2 separate regions of the Homo sapiens genome follow, and region 1 is linked to region 2. Evidence: promoter capture Hi-C in human tissues and cell types (Jung and others, 2019). All regions are on one chromosome and are shown on one strand. The core of a region is centred on a gene start or on the middle of the fragment in contact, and the rest is flanking DNA. Distances in the headings are between cores, read along the strand shown.

Region 1 (2,700 bases), core at 163-2,662, 210 kb after region 2:
ATAACATAGTATATGATCCTATATAACATTCATAAAATAAAATAACATTCATAAAATAAAACATATAACATTCATAAAACAAAATAATATAACATTCATAAAATAAAAAATAACAAAATTATAGGGATGAAGAACAGATTAGTGGTTGCCGGGGGCTGGGGATAAGAACATGGTGGGTGGGTATGGTTATAAAAGGATAATGTGGCTGGGCACAGTGGGAAGCTCAGGCCTGTAACCCCAGCACTTTGGGATGCTGAGGCAGGAGGATCACTTGAGGTCAGGAGTTTGAGATCAGCCTGACCAACATAGTAAAACCCAGTCTCTACTAAAAATAACAAAAACTAGCTGAGTGTGGTGGTGGACACCTGTAATCCCAGCAACTCCGGAGGCTGAGGCAGGAGAATCGCTTGAACCCAGGCAGCAGGGGGGCTGGGGGCGGAGGTTGCCATGAGCCAAGATCACACCACTGCACTCCAGCCTGGGCAACAGAGCGAGATACCATCTGAAAAAAAAAAAAAAGATAATGTAAGGGAGGCTTGCGGATGGAACTGTTCTGTATCTTGACCGCGGTGGTGGTTACAAGAGTCTGCGTATTTGATAAAATTGCATAGAACTACACACTCACACAAATGAGTACATGTAAATGTGGTGACATCTAAATAAGTTCTATGGGTTGTACCAATGTCAATTTCCTGGTTTTAATATCGTGTTATTCAGGATGTTATCCTTGGGGAAAACTAAGCGAAGGATCCATAGGACCTCATTGTACATTTTTTGATAATTTCCTGTGAACCTATAATTACATCAAAGTTAAAAGTGTTTAAAAATTGGTGAGAGCTTGGGTTGTGTGTTTATGGAAAGGCCCGAATAGTAAGAGGCTATGTAGTAATTAGTATAGTAGCCTCCTTTCTCCCTGAAGAATTGGTGGGTCTAGGTCTTTGAAAGTTTGGTGGAAGAAAATGAATTCTGCTCTTTCTCATGTCTGTTCTTCCTATTTTAGACATTGCCACTCTCATTATGAAATACACACAAAATCGAATAAAACTTTAGAAGTTTTTAAAGCCCTCTCTGCTATGTGATGACTTCTGTTCCTCCTCCATTTATCATCACCAACACACTAAAATTTATTGGGTATGTATTTTGTTTCGGTCACTGTTGCAAATTTCCCAAACCCAACTTAAAAGAAAAACGGAAATTTTTGATTTACCTAACTCCAAACTCCAAAGGATGGACCTGGTTTCAGGCACAGCTGACTGTCAGTATGTTTATCAGTGTCAATCTCTCTTTCTCTCTCTCTTCATCTCTCATTGCTGGCTGGTGTCATTGTAAAACAGCCTCTCTCTATGTAAGCTATATTGTCCTTACACGTCAGATTAACAGAGAATGAGAACGCCTTCACCATAGCCCCTGCACAAATCCAGAGATTGATCCCTGAATTGTGTAAGATTATTATAGAAAGAGGGAAGGCACAGTTTTCCAAAACAGGGGTGCTGTGTAGGCCAAAAAACAAAAAATCATACACTCACATTTTAAAAATAACAAAAACTAAAGCTTTCAGAAGCTAATTATCATCCCAGTGTCTTCCACTGAGCAGGTGGTGTTGCCATGACTCAAAGTCAGATTGTCCAGCTCCACTGCTCAATCTCTCAATCATGAGGTCACACTATCTCCAAGAATCCTTGCTCTCCTGGTTAGATAATCCCAGTTCCTAATAATACCTCTATATTTTTATTTTCCACCATATGCTAATTGACTCTTTATCAATTCCAGGTTCTCGTCTCCCAAATTGACTACAACAAAATAGGAAATAGAACTCAGGAAGATTCTAAGCAACGGTTTATACAGTGAAAGATTGTTCATTATTCCAGTATAGTTTAAGGGTATATCACCATTTATGCATATGTGCTTAAAGTTTGAATAATAGTATAAATAGAAGCTTCATAAATCAGATTATTTATTTCCCTGATTCATTTACATAAATTCTGTAGTGCCCACTATGTGCCAAGTTATCTTGACACCACCAAGAACTTGAGATATTAGAAGAATATAAAAGCAAATATAAAATGAGTGTTTTTAAAAGGATAAAAGGGATTTAAAACCTTACTTGGAGTTCTCACTCTACTAAAAGGAGACAGATAGACAATAAGCAAATGAAGAATTATCTAGATATAGACATATAGTATGGTATTATCAGGAGGCTGTAAGTGCTCAGGGGGAAAAAGCTATGCAAAGGAGAAAGGAAGTGCTGAGAGGAAGGAAGTTTTTGTTAACTATCAGGTGATCAAGGAAGGAAGATGTCATCAATAAGATAACATACTATCTACCTCAAATGCCTTTCCCAGTATAGAATTAACTCCGTATACCTGAAGATCTCTAAGATAGAGTAATAATGATGTGGTGGGATAGAATAGGAGTTAGAAGCAATTCTTTGATATTTTTAAATTTTAACTTTAATTTTTCTATTTTTGTAGAGACAGGGTCTCCCTATGTTGCCCAGGCTGGTCTGGAACTCCTGGGCTCAAGCAATCCTCCCACCTCGGCCTCCCAAAATGTTGGCATTACAAGGGTGAGCCACCATGTTAAAAAGGGAATAAAAGTATAGGAGGAGAGAAGGATGAAAGCAAAAAAGTTCAAGTTGGTTTTATTTGATCAACAATTGCCACCAATCAATTGTTGGCAATTGAACCAATAGACATTAAA
Region 2 (2,700 bases), core at 201-2,700:
TTGGACATCAAATCTTCACTTTGGTACTTTCCATGTAAGGAATATCATCTCCGCCCTATCCAAACCCTAATTACACTTCATGGTTTACATGAAGTTGATTCAATGAAGATCTTAATCCAAAGTGATCTCTCCTCTAAATTTCTACAGCACTTACTGCATTTGCCGTCTAATGGGCTCATTAAATCATAAGCTTCTCTATCTCAAGAATTCTCTTAAAGAAGGGAGGGATGTTCATCATAGTTTTGTGTTTAGTGGATACTTAAATATCTATTAAGGTAATTAGAACTGAATAGTAAAAACTGGTCAAATGAATAATAGGGACCAACGTTTACCACATACTCCTTCTCTGGCTAAAAGCAACTGAGTGTACAGTAAGAGGCAAAACAAGACAGGATTGGGCATACCTCATAAAGGAGTTAGCCATAATGAAAAGCAGTATGTGACTCTTCATTCATTCAGCAAATACTCATGCTTATTAGGTGGCAGACACTATTCTAGGTTACAGTAGTCAACATGACAGATATGTTTATGAAGACCTGAAGCCGGGTGTTTCTATGGCATTTACATCCTAAGAGTCGAGTGATTAACTCTTCAGTCTTTACGGTACTTTTCTGAAAGTCAGTAAATAAATCCCTAGAGGTCCTCTAAAATTATTCTCCAGGTCTGAGAACCCATATCTGACCACGTTCCAAAGGCAGCCATCCACTGCTTACTCTGTACTGGTTGTTTCCTTCAGCTCAGTTGGACCACCACACTGTGTGACAAATAGCCTGTCAGTGTGAGTGCCCGTGTGCATTGGGCCCTGTATGCTGCTGAGATATATTAATGCATGAAGCATTGCCATCTAGAAGATATAACTGTGCAAGGAAATAGAGAAATACACTTAAGAGATTTGGCGGGGGGTGGGGGGGAGTTGGGGTTGGGGGGCCGGGATGTGAATTTGGACAAAGAGGAAGGCACAGTCACGCTCTCCTCTCCTGGACCACGCCAAAGAGCTTACGATCAGGGTCATTTTGCACAAACAAAATCTGGTTCCGATGGGCGGAACCGTAATGGGGCCCGTGAGGACTGCCCTCCCAGCTCCGCATTCTCCTAGACCCGAGGACAAGGGACTGGAGAATGCTCTGACCAAACTTCGTCTTACCGGGACAAACGGGGAAAGGAAGGTCAGAAGGAGCGGTGCCCGACCCCAGGCGTGGAGACAGCAGCCGGACTGAGGAGCCGCCTTAGACCCTGGTGCCTGTCAGCTCGTCTGTCCGCCGCCGCCGGGACTACCGGGCAGCCGCGGCCGAAGGCTTACCGCAAGGCCGGACTGAGCCTGGCTGTGCCGAGGCGGGTCTTCCAAAACGGAGACCGGATGGGGGCCACTAGGATACGCCCCTCAATAAAGCGTTGAACGGGAAGCGGCCGTTCCCCCAACACTTCCTATATCCGGGCACGTGACAAACTCCGCGCCGGAAGTTGACCGCGTAGAGAAGGAAGAAGCAGCGATGGGAGAAAAAGGGAGCGGCCAATAGACGCGGAGGGGCGGGGCGCCAACCGACGGGCGTGGCCAGGCGGAACAAGGCCTCATTGGAGGGGCGTGTCAGGGAAGGGCAGGGGCGGGGCCTTTGTGGCACAGAAACTGACTTGGGAGTTGGGGATTAAGAGTTATTTATTCAGATATTTGCAGCAATTCATTTAAGAAGAAATTCGATTAAATGTTTTCTTTTTTCATACGTAAAGCTCTATTAACTCTAGATCTTTGCTACTTAAACTTTGGAGAGCTTAAATGAGTTAAATCAGAATCCCTGCGGGTGGGACCCAGACATCAGTACTTTTAATATCTTCCCAGATGATTCTCATATGCAGCTAAGGTCAAGAACCATTGTCCTCATGACCTTGATACTCAAAGTGTGGTCCGTGGATCAGCTGCTTGGGTATCATCTGGGGGCTTTTTAGGAAATGCAGCCTCTCTGGCTCACTTCAGATCTACTGAATCAGAATCTGCATCTTAGCAAGATGATGCTTATGCATATTTAAGTTTGGGATGCATAAATGATGCCAATGTTGCTGGTTGCAGGTAGGTGTTTTATTTATTCAATATTCCTGGCACCTTTTTTTTTTAATGCTAGGCACTTTGATTCCAGGTACAGAGGTGATTCAGGCATGAATCTTAACCTAAAGGAGTTCACAGTGTGGTAGGACTAGACAAGGTGTAGGTACAAATATATATAAAATAGGACACAAAATAAGTGACCAAAGAGAGGTACAGATCAGATAAATGTGCTAGAAATTTAAATGAGCAAACAGTAGTTAGAATACTTTTCACTTTCATCAAATGACTTCCCTTTTAAGAGCAGGATCTGGTTATATCTTTACAAAGACCCTTTCCTGCTTGGCACCGGAATGCTTACTGTGGACACTCTATGACAATTGCATGTGTTTTTTGGTCCTATTATCTTTCTTTTATTTACCTGTATGTTTATAGCCCTCCTCAAAGTTGGGAAATGAATTGCATTTCAGAAGCCTAGATCTCTTTCTTGAACCTCAAGATTTGTGTATATACTGCCCATCGCCTGACATTTCCACTTGGATGTCTTATAGACACCTCAAACTTGTGTGTCCAAAAATTAAATTATCCTCTCTCCTCTTGGATTCCCTGCAAAGTGACACTTATATGCAATAGTTTATTTGGAAATTTGATCCCAGGGAGCAAAA

The links. The method cuts DNA at HindIII sites, captures the fragments that hold promoters and counts their contacts. A contact is called where the count stands out against the background at its distance.
Region 1: a contact is called between a fragment that was not itself captured here and the fragment with the promoter of EXOC1 in region 2, in 1 of the 25 tissues and cell types used here (small bowel).

Annotation. Positions count from the first base shown.
Region 1 is chr4:55,646,933-55,649,632 of GRCh38, reverse strand. No RefSeq gene overlaps it. Among named protein-coding and RNA genes, the nearest start is that of NMU, 12 kb to the right of the region's middle. The HindIII fragment of the contact is 4,269 bases long and covers 1-2,700 here.
Region 2 is chr4:55,852,398-55,855,097 of GRCh38, reverse strand. EXOC1 (exocyst complex component 1) reads right to left here and starts at 1,450. Exons shown (of 19, transcript NM_001024924.2): 1 at 1,145-1,450. RefSeq lists a silencer at 1,559-1,658. The HindIII fragment of the contact is 5,967 bases long and covers 1-2,700 here.